Regions from separate parts of the Homo sapiens genome. Here all the other regions are linked to region 3. Evidence: promoter capture Hi-C in 16 types of primary human blood cells and fetal thymus (Javierre and others, 2016). All regions are on one chromosome and are shown on one strand. Each heading gives the region's core, a stretch centred on a gene start or on the middle of the fragment in contact. The rest is flanking DNA. Distances are from core to core; before and after follow the strand shown. Region 1 overlaps CAMK2B (calcium/calmodulin dependent protein kinase II beta). Region 2 overlaps CAMK2B (calcium/calmodulin dependent protein kinase II beta). Region 3 holds the start of NPC1L1 (NPC1 like intracellular cholesterol transporter 1). Region 4 overlaps YKT6 (YKT6 vesicular SNARE protein).

The links. The method cuts DNA at HindIII sites, captures the fragments that hold promoters and counts their contacts. A CHiCAGO score of 5 or more calls a contact.
Region 1: a contact is called between a fragment that was not itself captured here and the fragment with the promoter of NPC1L1 in region 3, in 5 of 17 cell types (M0 macrophages, endothelial precursors, M1 macrophages and 2 more). The highest score is 10.8, in M0 macrophages.
Region 2: a fragment that was not itself captured here is called in contact with the fragment with the promoter of NPC1L1 in region 3 in 4 of 17 cell types (M1 macrophages, M0 macrophages, naive CD8 T cells and 1 more); the score reaches 8.1 in M1 macrophages.
Region 4: a fragment that was not itself captured here is called in contact with the fragment with the promoter of NPC1L1 in region 3 in 8 of 17 cell types (M0 macrophages, endothelial precursors, M2 macrophages and 5 more); the score reaches 10.4 in M0 macrophages.

What each region holds. Positions count from the first base shown.
Region 1 is chr7:44,244,791-44,248,035 of GRCh38, reverse strand. CAMK2B (calcium/calmodulin dependent protein kinase II beta) reads left to right here. Exons shown (of 24, transcript NM_001220.5): 6 at 844-916. Among named protein-coding and RNA genes, the nearest start is that of YKT6, 45 kb to the right of the region's middle. The HindIII fragment of the contact is 1,472 bases long and covers 545-2,016 here.
Region 2 is chr7:44,225,388-44,228,728 of GRCh38, reverse strand. CAMK2B (calcium/calmodulin dependent protein kinase II beta) reads left to right here. Exons shown (of 24, transcript NM_001220.5): 20 at 2,085-2,213. Among named protein-coding and RNA genes, the nearest start is that of YKT6, 26 kb to the right of the region's middle. The HindIII fragment of the contact is 6,943 bases long and covers 1-3,341 here.
Region 3 is chr7:44,539,445-44,542,652 of GRCh38, reverse strand. NPC1L1 (NPC1 like intracellular cholesterol transporter 1) reads left to right here and starts at 1,323. Exons shown (of 19, transcript NM_001101648.2): 1 at 1,323-1,447; 2 at 2,311-3,208. The coding sequence starts at 1,394. RefSeq lists an enhancer at 2,030-2,651. The HindIII fragment of the contact is 6,836 bases long and covers 1-3,208 here.
Region 4 is chr7:44,209,056-44,212,332 of GRCh38, reverse strand. It overlaps YKT6 (YKT6 vesicular SNARE protein), which reads right to left. Exons shown (of 7, transcript NM_006555.4): 6 at 1,209-1,310; 7 at 1-86. The coding sequence ends at 51. Among named protein-coding and RNA genes, the nearest start is that of YKT6, 9.7 kb to the right of the region's middle. The HindIII fragment of the contact is 2,346 bases long and covers 803-3,148 here.

The sequences.
Region 1 (3,245 bases), core at 31-2,530, 290 kb after region 3:
TCTTTTTGAGATGGACTCTCCCTCTGTCACCCAGGCTGGAGTGCAGTGGTGCCATCTTGGCTCACTGCAACCTCCACCTCCTGGGTTCAAGCAATTCTCCCTTCCTTAGCCTCCTGAGTAGCTGGGATTACAGCCGCCCACCACCACACCCAGCTAATTTTTGTATTTTTAGTAGAGACGGGGTTTCGCCATGTTGGCCAGGCTGGTCTTGAACTCCTGACCTCAGGTGATCCGCCCACCTTGGCCTCCCAAAGTGCTGGGATTACAGGTATGAACCACCGCGCCCAGGCAGGTTTCACTTTTTATTAAAATGAAATAACATGTGCCCGAGCACATTATTTCTGCTCCAGCACAGAGCAGGGTCCTGGTGCCTGGGGCTTTCTCACACACCAGGGCAGCCCCCTGCCCCCACCCCCAGCCGCCTTGACCCTTCCCTGCCTTGGTTTTCTAGCCCGCTCGCCCGGCCTGCTCACCTCAGCCTGCCTTACAGGGTACAGACTCAGCCTGGCCTCCCTCCTGAGGGTGCCCAGCTTAGGGTCAAGCTTGGCCAACAGGAGCCTGGGGACAGGGGTGTTTCCTTTGAAAGTCACTTCTGTGTGCCTAGCCATGCCCTCTGAACAGATATGGGCCCAGAGGGGAAGGCAGGGCCAGGGCCAGAGTTGCTGGCCTTGGAGGTGAGGAAGAAGCCCCAGAGGCCCCTCCTGGCCAGCATCTCCTCTCACCTTGACTTGCTTTGTCCCCCTGGTCCCCCCAGGCCACACAGCACCATTGCCCCTGCCCCCAGTGCCTCCTCTTGCTGCTCCCCAGGGCCACTCGCACTAACCCACCTGCTGTTTGCCACAGTCACTGTATCCAGCAGATCCTGGAGGCCGTTCTCCATTGTCACCAAATGGGGGTCGTCCACAGAGACCTCAAGGTGAGTCCCCACCCCACTCTGTGCCAGGTGTCTGTTGTCTGTACCTGCATGCTGTGTACAAGGAAGTGTGAGGGGCTGGACAGTGTGTGGCACTGTGGAGCTTGGAGGGGTGAGGTGTATGTGTGTGTGTGTCCTTGTGTGCATGCATGGAGGAGTGTGTGCATGCATGTGCATGTGTATGTGTGTGCATGTCCTGTGTGGATGGTGTGCATATGTGCGTGCATGTGTGGAGGCATGTGTGCATGCTTATGTGTGTGCACCTGTATGTAAATGTGCATGTGTCATGTGCATAGAAGTATGTGTGTGCATGTGCATACGTGTGTACATGGAGGTTCGTGTGTACATATGTGCATGCCTGGGTGGAGGCATTGTGTGAGTGTGTGTGCACATGTGTGTATACATGCTTGTGTGTGCATCTTGCACCTGTGCAGGGATGTGCATGTATGTGCACACTTAGAGGTGTGAGTGCATATGTCTGCATGAGTGGTGGCGTGTCTGTGTGCCTGTGTGCATGTGTGTATACATATGGCATGTGTGCATGCACGTGTGTGGGGACTGTGCATGCATGAGTATGCAAGTGTGTACAAGTGTGTACATGTGTGGGCATGTTCATGCGCATGCATATGTGAATGTGTACATGTGGGTACATGTGTGCGTGTATGCATGTGTGTGTGTGTCTGTGTGGGCATGTGTGTACATGTGCATGTGTGTGCACTTGTGTGTTGGAGGGGTGTCTGCACATGGCCCTCCCTACCCCTCCGGACCTCCAGGGCTGGGAGGGGTTAGTCTTCAGAAATCAGCCTATTACACCGCACTCCAGCCTGGGCAATAGAGAAATCAGCTAGTAACAAATGTCCACTCAGGGTCTAACTGTGAGCCCCCACCAAGACTCCACTGTGGCAGATGAGGACACAGGTGACAGGGCTGACGCCGCTGGGAGCAGAGTGGTGAGAGCAGGACTCGCCAGGGTCTGCCAAGTCCTCCCAGCCCTTTCCTCAAGTCTCTGCTGCCCCCAGCTCAGGTCTGGGCAAAGCAGTTCTAGGCTGTGTTCGGAAGAAGGTTGGTCACCCCCCAGGGCACAGGGTGGCCTCTCAGAAGCTTAGCTGTCTCTCTGCTCCTTCCTCTCTCCCTTCCTTCCTCCCTTTCCTTCCTTCCAATCTCCTTTCCTCCTTCTTCAACCCCACCTTCCCCAAGGCTTGGTTCAGCCTGCTGCTTCTCTGTAGACAGGCAAGCAGTGCAGACCCTGGGGCCATCACCCTGATGGCATTTTTAAGACCAACCTCCCCATTGGTTTTCATGCTGAATGGGGGTCACACCTTTCCTTAGGCCATCGATGATCTTTGTGCTGCTCTGGGGAGAGTGTCACACCAAGAGCAGATCCGGGACCCTCTCCTATACCCTTTACACGCCACCGTACCCCCTGTTCCCTCTCATCTCTGCATCCCAAGCATGTCCTGCTTTGTCTCACCTGAGTCAGCCTCACTCAGGCGCCTCTGGGAGGAGGGGGCCCCCAGGTGCTCCCCTCGGGGCCACGTGGGTTGGTGCTAGGACTCAGTGGCTCTCCTGTGAGGGGCCACAGACATTGTGTTACCAGACCCCATGATTTATCTGGTTAACTCTGGAGCCAAGGCATAGAAGTAGAGGTCAGTGGTACCTCCTCCCCAATTTGGGGGACAAACAGAATTCTTGCTGTCTCAACCTCCTGTTGAGGGGGACAGGATGTCCTTTTCTCCTGGACAGAAATCCACCATCTTGATCGTGACAGCCCAGGAAGCAGCAGAGTAGTGGGGTTGCTCTCACCCCACTGGGGAGGGTGGTAGAGAGCAGAGGGCAGTTGATGTCATCCCAGGGAACTGCAAAAGAGCCAGGGTGGGGGCATCACTGGGTGGCCTAGCAGGGGTGGGCACAGCCTGAGAGCTACCCTGGAGCCTCCAGGCCTTCTTGCCCAGTGCTTCCTACGGTCCATGTTCACTTAACGCTCCTTCTCTTCGGAAGAACTGCTGGTCTGTTTCCTCTGGGGAGGGGGGACATGCAGCAAGTCTGCTCTGGGCTGGGTGGAGAAATGCAGCCCCTGACCCCTCCTCTGTCCAACTTCTCCATGTAGCTGCACGGGGAGCTTGGGGCCTCCACCCACTCACGTTGGCAAAATCACCATGTCCAGTGGCCTGTGGATTGGTGCTCGGTGGACACGGATGCGTGTGCCCCAGCAGGCTGGGACCCCCAAGGTGACGAGGAGGTGGAGGTGGGGGACAGAAGCCCCCAATGCTGCCTTGTCAAGGGGGCACACGGCCTCATCCCGCCTGCTCAGTAGGGCGTGGCTGGAGCTTTC
Region 2 (3,341 bases), core at 304-2,803, 310 kb after region 3:
GCAGCTTCCCACCTGCATGCACGGCCCAGCTACCCTGCCCCGGCGCCGCAGCCTGGAGTCCTGCCCTGGCGGGGCTTCCTGTGGGCTCCCATGCTAACCAGCAGGGCAGCTCCTGGCTTCTCCCTAAGGGGCCCAGACCCCTCCACGGCTCCTGCTCCCACTGCCACTCCCCGCTCGCTGTCCAGCCCCAGGCCCCTCTCCAAAATGTCTGTCCCAGCCCTGGGCAGCCCTGGCCCCTCCGAGGCCCCCCATGCCCCTAGGCCCTCTCTGCTGATCACTGTCCCAGCCCCACAGACTTCACACCCACCCAGGGGCCCTGCCCATGGTGCCCAGGAGCTGCACTCAGGGCCACCCTGGTTCCTGATGTGGCCCCAACCCCTGAGCACCCTCCCTCAGTCTAGGAGGCTGAGGAAGGTGCCAAAACTGGAACCCCGACCAGGGTCTCTGGAGCTCACCAACAAGGGGATAGTACGGAGAATCATAAGCCTGGCCTCTGCTGACCTGGGCTGTCCTCATGGGGCCAGGCCAGGCCTCCTCTGTAACGCCCGTGACTCCCTCCTCTCCCTGTAACCCCGTCCAGCGTTCCTCAAGGGCCACTTACCTGACAGCTTCTTGCTGGCCAGCAGCCTCTCCCTGGAGGGTGCCCTCTGCCCCCAGCAGCTTCAGCCCACGCCACCCGACAGCCAGAGCATCTGCCCTTCACTCCTGCAGCCTCCTCTCCACGCACCACGCTGTCCGCAGCAGCACCCTCTGTCCCCCTGTCTCCCTCCGTCCCCCCATATCCCCCTCGGTCAGCCTACAACCTCTCCACGTCCCCCTAAGTCCACGCTCTATCCCTACATCCCCCTCTGTCCCCCAAATTCCCCTCTTTCCCTCATTTCCATTTTCCTCCCCAAACTCTGCTCTGCCCCTCACATTCTCCCTCTGTCCCCCACACCCTCCTCTGTCCCCCAGACTCTCCCTCTGTCCCCCACACCCTCCTCTGTCCCCCATATACCCCTCTGTCCCCCACACCCACCTTGGTCCCTTCACGCCCTTTTCTGTCCCCCACACCCCCTCTGTTCCCTACACTCTCCCTCTGTCCTCCAGACCCTCCTCTGTCCCCCACACTCCCTCTGTCCCCCACACCCCCTGTCCCCCACACTCTCCCTCTGCCCCCCAGACCCTCCTCTGTCCCCTACACTCCCTCTGTCCCCCATATCCCCCTCTGTCCCCCACACCCTCCTCTGTCCTCCACCCCCTGCCCCCCATACCCCCTTCTGTCCCCCACACTTCCTCTGTCTTCCACACCCCCTCCTGTCCCCCACACCCCCTCTGTCCCCCAGACTCTCCCTCTGTCCCCCACACTCCGTCTGTCCCCCACACCTCCTGTCTTCCACACCCCCTTCTGTCCCCCACACCCCCTCTGTCCCCCATACTCTCCTCTGTCCCCCACCTCCCCCTCTGTTCCCCACACCGCCTTCTGTCCCCCACACCCCCTCTGTCTTCCACTTCCCCTCTGTCCCCCACATCCCCCTCTGTCCCCTGCACCCTCCTCTGTCCCCTGCACCCTCCTCTGTCCCCTGCACCTCTCTCTGTCCCCCACATCCCCCTCTGTCCTCCACACTCCCTCTGTCCCCCACATCCACCTTGGTCCCCTCACGCACCCCCATCCCCCATGACCCCTTCTGTCCCCCACACCCCCTCTGTCTTCCACACCCCCCTCTGTCCCCCACACCCACCTTGGTCCCCTCATGCCCCCCATCCCCTACACCCCCACTTTGTCCCCCCACATGCCCCTCTGTCCCCCACGTTCCCTTCTGTCTCCCACGTCTCCTCCATTTCCCGTTTCCCTCTCTGTCCCCCAAGCTCCCCTCCATCCCCCACATCCCCTTCTTTCCCCTATATCCCCTCTGTCGGCCCAGGTCCACCATCTTCCCCCCACACCCCCCCATTCTCCCTTCCTCCCCTCTGTCCCCTTGTGCCCCATCCCCCACATCTGCCTCTGTGCCCCTCAATCTCTGGCTTGGCTGTCTGCCCATGGTTTCTCTCCTGCGTGCCCCCCGTGCCTGCCTTGTGTTCACGTCTCGTCTGTTCCGCCCCAGCCCCCAGGATCTCTGACATCCTGAACTCTGTGAGGAGGGGCTCAGGGACCCCAGAAGCCGAGGGCCCCTCGCCAGTGGGGCCCCCGCCCTGCCCATCTCCGACTATCCCTGGCCCCCTGCCCACCCCATGTAAGTAGCACCTTGAGTGGCCGTGGCAGCGGCTGCCCGGAGGGGCTCGGGGCGTGCGAGCCTGGCAGTGGTGCTCTGGGAAGGGCCATTCTTGCGGAGGAGGGCGGGGCACAGGATCCCTCTGCTGGGTCCCAGGGAATTGCTTTGAAGCACATGAAGGTGCCACTGGGTCTCAGAAAATGGAGGTTATGGTTATGAAGTGTGTATGACATATGTGTATAGGAAGAGCGTCCGAAAGAGCAGGTTTGTTGCCGACCCCAGCATTCGCAACCCTGAGGTCCACAGCTTTCTCCTGATGGGAGGGGAATGGGTGGCAAAGGGTCTGCGCGTGTGGCAAGGGCTAGCACGCCAGGAGCTGCTGGCTTGGGTCAAGGTGGACCTGCTGGGCCGGGACAGAAAAGTGTCAGTCCCGGCCTGAGACGCTCTAGCATTAGAGCTGTCCAAGTCCAGACAGCAGGGAGCAGGTGGGGATCGGGAGGCGCGGATCTGGGGGGCAGCTGGGGCCAGGCTGAAACAGAGCGGGCGGGACAGGAAGCACAGGCTGGGCAGCCTCCCCGGCCAGGGAGGAGCCAGGCTGGGCCACCTCCCGGTCTGTCTGCCGACTACCCGCAGTATCACTTACAGGGATGGATGACATCCCAGGGCTGCTGCCACCCCCACCTGTGGGGAGACACCAGACTGGGGGTGGTGTGGAGATACTCTTAGAGAAGAGGCTGCTGGGCCACGGGCTCGGCATGGCAGGGCAGTGGCTAGGTAAGTACTTGAGGGACAGGTGGGGTCTGCTTGCCACCGTCCCCTCTGCAGGCTGGGCCTGGGGGCTGCTGCAGGCGGCCAGGGCAGAAGGGTGTGGGGAGAGTGAACCCACAGGAGCAGCGGCTCGAGGAGGGGGATGCAGGCTGCAGGCTCAAAGGGGCACTGGATCCACCCTGGGTGCCCGAGAGAGCAGGGGGCAGCCCCTGGAGGGGTACTCACCCCCAGAGCTTCTGTGGTCGGCTGAGGACCCCCAGCAGGGGTTGACTGAGGGGATCAGAGGCAAGCAGCTGAGGGGAGAGGCCAGGTTCTTGATGCTGATAGGGTCGGGGTGCCTGGGCGACCAGAACTCAAGGAGGGAGGCATGGGGAGGGGCCG
Region 3 (3,208 bases), core at 74-2,573:
ATTCACCGACTGCTGTCATCTGGGGTCATCTCCCCAATAAACTCTTTGCACTGGGATCCTTGTTTCAGGATCTGTTTCTGGAGGAACTAGATGACAACACCGGGAACAGAGGACCTAGAGAGGCAGCTTCATGGGTGGTGGGGTGTCCGCCTCTGCCGGCCAGGGACTTGGGAGCAGTGCTGGGAAGGTGCTGGATGGAGCTGTCACTCACAGGGGCAGGTCCTTGGCTGCTGACTGTCTTCCTCTCCACTATGGCTGTCTTGAGAACTTAGGGGTCAGCCTGACCCTGCCTTGGCCCCCTTCCTCTCAGCCTCTGTCTTCTCCTGCATGAGGCTGGGTGGCTCCCCTGTGAATCAGGCAGGGGTCCACAGAACACTAGAGACAGGTCCCTTCCTGCAGCTGTCTCCAGTAGGTGGCCACGCAGGAGATGTTCCCAACAAGCTGCCCTTATCTGCAGCTCAGCTTTGGTAATGGGGGCCCATTACCAAATGGGGGTAAAGGTCATGGCCCATCCTGGTGATAGTGAGAACCCAAGGTAGGCCTTGAAGATTCCTATCAGGAGGGAGCAGAAAGTGTGTACCACACCCCTGGGCCCAGGTGGAGCAGGGCTGCTGCTCAAGGCTCCCAGCCATGCTCTGTCCCTTGCTAGGGGTGACCGGTGGGACAGGCCTGGGCAAGGGACAAGAGGGAGAAGGTCGGGGGGAAGAGGGGATGAAGAGCAAAGTGAGCAAAGGAGAGTCTTCCACTATCTGGGGTCTCTGTCAACTGTCAGGCCCTAGAGTGAGCTGTTCTTTCCCTTTGCTTCCTGGAGGAGGGGACTTTTGTCACTGCGTCACTCCACCCTGCCTGCCCCTCCGTTATCAGGCTGTTAATATTAATTAACAACAGTTGCTAGGGATGACAGTGCAGAGGGTTCCTCTGAGCCCATTGCTGGCCCTGGTCCCAAGAGGGGGTAGGGCAGAGCTGGGGTCTGAGGCTGAGCCAGGGAGGGTGCGGAGGTTCCTCGGCCATGCTGAGCTCCTGAGGCCGGGTCCCAGCCAGTGCCTGGTCCCATCTGTGCCTCCAGGCCCTGGCACCAACTCCAGCAGTGTTAGGGGCTAATAGCGTGGTCTCTCCCCTAGCTGACTCAGCCCTCTGGCTTCGGTCGCTTTGGGAAGTGAGTGGAGACCCTAGCACCTGCGTGATGAGGCTCATCTAAAGCGGGGGCCTGTGGACTGGGGCCAAACAGTGGGAGTGGTGGATCATTAACCAGCAGGGCTCAGCCTCATTGGTCCCTAACCCAGTCAGGCCAGGGTTGTCATCGAAGGGGAGGAGGCTGCCTTAATGTGTGTTCAGCCCTTGGCTGTTCCTGAGGCCTGGCCTGGCTCCCCGCTGACCCCTTCCCAGACCTGGGATGGCGGAGGCCGGCCTGAGGGGCTGGCTGCTGTGGGCCCTGCTCCTGCGCTTGGTGAGTCCCAGGGCTTGGCTCCACCTCCCCTGCGGCCTCCAGTTAGGGACCCTGGGGCCAGCCGTGTACCAGGCGAGCGTTACTGGGTGACAGCAAGGGAGCCTCAGGGCCTGCGGGCTGGGCAAGTCTCTGGACACATGAGGGATGCCAGGCCCCACAGAGGAGGGGTGCAGGTGGAGGGTTTCCAGGTTACAGGCTTGAATGCACACAGGGGTGAAAGAGGCTGCTGGACTGGGGTGCTCCAAGTCCCTCCTGTCACTGGCCCTACTGTGGGGTCCAGGCCTGCAGTTGAGGGAGGTCTGAGGCAAGGAGGTGCTGGGATGGGGTTACCTGGTGAGCATCACCTAGGGAGGACTGAGCACTCTGGAGGCTGGGAGAAGATCCAGCGCTGGCACCTCTTAAGTTCCTCGCTTACTTTGTGTCTGGGAGGTGGGTGACAGCTTTTGGCCTCAAGCAGGTGGTGGTAGTGGTGGTGGGAGTCGGGGGGCCTCCTGAACAGACTCTCCATGAGAGACCCTGGCCTCTGGATGTGGTGTACAGTGTGGGGACTCAGGCTGACTTTGACGTGGGCAGAGCCCGGGACCTTGGAGTCAGCTTTGCCTCCTTACCCATCTCTGGCCTCTCCAGCATGACTTTCCTAAGCTGCAGGTCTATCAGGCCACCCCCAGGAAGAAAGGCCAGTGTTGTCACTCCAACACTGGCTGGCTGGCACATGCCTCCAGGAGGCTTCCTACTCCCCACACTCCCCGCTTCCCTGCCCCTGCTCCATGTCCTTCTTACCCTCACACCCTCCCTGGCTGCCTGCTGCCTGGATGGCACCCAGCTGTGTCAGGGCCCACGCGTGATGTTGCTGTGCTCTGCAGGCCCAGAGTGAGCCTTACACAACCATCCACCAGCCTGGCTACTGCGCCTTCTATGACGAATGTGGGAAGAACCCAGAGCTGTCTGGAAGCCTCATGACACTCTCCAACGTGTCCTGCCTGTCCAACACGCCGGCCCGCAAGATCACAGGTGATCACCTGATCCTATTACAGAAGATCTGCCCCCGCCTCTACACCGGCCCCAACACCCAAGCCTGCTGCTCCGCCAAGCAGCTGGTATCACTGGAAGCGAGTCTGTCGATCACCAAGGCCCTCCTCACCCGCTGCCCAGCCTGCTCTGACAATTTTGTGAACCTGCACTGCCACAACACGTGCAGCCCCAATCAGAGCCTCTTCATCAATGTGACCCGCGTGGCCCAGCTAGGGGCTGGACAACTCCCAGCTGTGGTGGCCTATGAGGCCTTCTACCAGCATAGCTTTGCCGAGCAGAGCTATGACTCCTGCAGCCGTGTGCGCGTCCCTGCAGCTGCCACGCTGGCTGTGGGCACCATGTGTGGCGTGTATGGCTCTGCCCTTTGCAATGCCCAGCGCTGGCTCAACTTCCAGGGAGACACAGGCAATGGTCTGGCCCCACTGGACATCACCTTCCACCTCTTGGAGCCTGGCCAGGCCGTGGGGAGTGGGATTCAGCCTCTGAATGAGGGGGTTGCACGTTGCAATGAGTCCCAAGGTGACGACGTGGCGACCTGCTCCTGCCAAGACTGTGCTGCATCCTGTCCTGCCATAGCCCGCCCCCAGGCCCTCGACTCCACCTTCTACCTGGGCCAGATGCCGGGCAGTCTGGTCCTCATCATCATCCTCTGCTCTGTCTTCGCTGTGGTCACCATCCTGCTTGTGGGATTCCGTGTGGCCCCCGCCAGGGACAAAAGCAAGATGGTGG
Region 4 (3,277 bases), core at 726-3,225, 330 kb after region 3:
CTGATGTGAATGATGGTGCCATTCCAGCATTGGGCCTCTGGCAGGCTGCATCACATGATGGCACAGCATGAGTTTTGTTTCCGGGCCTTGGAAAAAAACAAAGAGGAGCTGAGAAGGAGGACTGACGAAGTAAGGGAAGCCCCAATCCTGGCAGGCGTGGCAGAGGGAGCTCCACAGGACACAGCCAGGCAGAGAAACTAGCACTAGAACAGGGTGGGGGTGGAGGCCTTGAGGGAAGCTGTCCACAAGCAATTCCCATCACCAAGCACAAGGCGGGCCCCGGCTTCCAAAACTAGTCTGGGATCCTTTTTCCTTTCTTTTCTCACACCCCATTAATGCTATCAAAAAGTGAGTAAAATTCCTACAGTTAGGCCAGGTACAAACAAAGGACCAATAATACAAATGGGATTGGCAGAATATCTTAACTTTGCCCCACTCCTGTCTTCACACAATGCTATCTGACCACCACGGTGGTGTTTCTTCCTAGAAGATGGTCCTGAGGACAACAGATGTGGTTCCCACTTGGGATGTGGTTTGTGGGGACCACTGTTGCCACCTTCTCTCTTGCTTTCTGGTCACAGACTATCTTCCTAATCCCACCTAGCCATCTCCCTCCAATGTGCACATGAAAGCAAATGTGTGTGGACAGACCAAGTAAATTTGTCCCTATGACTATCCAACCATGGGCCAACAGTGCCATCTCCACATAGGAAGACATGAGCACTGACCTGAGAGAAAGCGGCAGTCAGCAGCACCCATCCTTGTCAATTAAATATTTTCTGTCAAAGGGAAATTAAAAGCTTAAGAACCTCTTCAGGAAGGCTGAATTGCTTGCATCTTAAAGACTTATGTCTACTCAGCAGAAAGAGGAATAAGATTCAACAGTAAATCTCTGGTGATCAGAACTTGAACCAGCCTTCCTGGACTGGGAGTAGGAGTTCAGAAATCAGCCAGAGCAGCAGAGGGCAGAGCAGAGGCAGGAGTGGAACAAGGCCTCGGCCCGCATCGACTCCAACGGCGCCCAAGTGAACTGCCTCCAACCACCTGGGCCTGAGGCGCTCACCTTAGGCTCTTGCCGCACAAGGAATCATCCACCATGATTCAACAGTCTAAGAAAGACCCGTTCATAGTGGAGAGTGCCAGAAGCAGCAAGCTGCGACTGCTCTCTAGAGAGAACACCCAGGAGGCAGCAGGTGCTGGGTACTCACAGTTTTATAGAAGGCTTTAGACTGTGTTCCCAGCACCTCGGATTTGGACACCAAGTCATCTAGCTTCTCACCTCGCTCTAACAGAGACTCCATGGTGTTGTGCTGGACAAAAAAGAAAAGAGAATCCAGCTCTGTTCAGTACGTGCCCTGACATGAGCCCCTCATATTTCAGTCATGGGGGAAAGTGCCTTACCTGGGTTCCTCTCCAACACACACAAACTTCACCTCTAGGTGTCGAGACTCGGTCCAAGAATAGTTACTGTCCAAGTGGATGGAACAGAACCTGGTGACATTCCCGTGAAATCTAGAAGATCTAACTGGGATGTAGCAGACTTCCCAAAAAGCTGTCCCCAGCACAGGCTTAGATAACCAGCACTCCAGGAAAACTCATATATATATATACACACACATTTATATATACATTTGTGTGTGTGTGTGTGTGTGCACGCACATGTGCGTGTGCATGGAGCTTTGGAAAAAAGAGTAGCTGGGCACTATATGATTGTACTGGGTTGGAGAGTGACCCACACCGCACCCCCCAACCCCAACCGCATCCCAGAAATTAACATCCCCAGAATCTCTGAATGTGACCATATTTAGAAATAGGGTCTTGGCAGATGTAACTAGTTAGGAAGAGGTAATACTGGATTAGGGTGGCATCTAATTCCATGACTGATGTCCTGGTAAGAAACGGAAACACACACACAGAAGGTCACGTGACGGCAGAGGCAGAGCCTGAAGTGATGCACCTCTAATCCAAGGAATGCCAAGGATGGCCAGCAGCCACCAGAGGCTGGAGAGAGGCCTGGGACAGACACTCAGAGCCCCAAAAGACACCAGCCAGGCCCACAGAGCTATCTGTTAAAAGCAAATATTTGAGGGTTTCTGTTGACAGCAGCCACAGGAAACAAAAGGCGGTGGGAAATGGCTATTGAGCACTTGATGTGAGGCAAGTCCAAACTGAGCAGCGCTCTGAGTACAGACACACCAGATTTCAGATGCAAACTCACACATGCTTCATTAGTAAGTTTTATACTGAAAAAAAAACAAGTTTTATACCGATTACATGTTGGAAAAATTGTATTTGGATATACTGCGTTAAGTAAAATATATAATTAAATTAAATTCTACCTATTTTCCTTTTATCATTTTAAAATATGGCTCCTAGAAAATTCTAAGTTACACACATGCCCCAAATATATACCAGACAGCACTATGACAGAACATGTCCTGCCTTCTAAATGGGCTATGTCCTAAATGTCATCACTACAAACTCTGACTTAGGAAATGAAAACACTGACCCCATGGGAAGGGGTCTAGAGATGGAGACCTCACAAGAGCCAGCAGCTCTGCTGCCAGGGCCCTCAGGAAGCAGCAGCTCGCTTCTCTCCTCAGATGGCCACTGCTGCAGCAGCTAGATGCACACATGAAGCGCCATAGAACAAGGAGCCAGCAAGAATGTCCTTCATCCCTACACACAGCTGAGCGACTCAAATTTTTAACACAGAAAGTTAACTGATTCAGATATGCACACCAATCATCTAGATTTTACAACTGCAGCTAGATGAGGCTGGGTGAATAGGACTCATCCACTCCCCACCGTGGGGAGAGGAGAAACAGCGGGTGTCCCAGGTGTCATGGTACTCAGACTAGGACTTGAGCAACAGAAAGAGATGGCTTGAGGAGAAAACGGAGAAATGCCACCTAGGTGGTAAGAAAGCTCACAAGGTTTCAAAAGACACAGATACCATGAGACTTTCACATCTATCGTTCATTCCAAAGCCACGTTATTTGGAGTGCAGTCAGCACACCTGTGTTTGAAGCCCCTGGGATGCTTTTTATAAAATGCAGGTTCCCAGGCTCCATCGCAGGCCAACAACTCCAACCCCAGGAGACGCTGATGTACACACTAAAGCTATGCCTGTGTAAATGGTAAAGCTTTGTATGTGGGTTTCAATCCACTCCAGGTATCTATCAACTGCTGAGCATGGTATAAACTAGGCACTGTATCATGAGCAGGATGGAAAGATGTCCCAGTGCTCATACGCTGGTCAGGGAGACATGTAAAC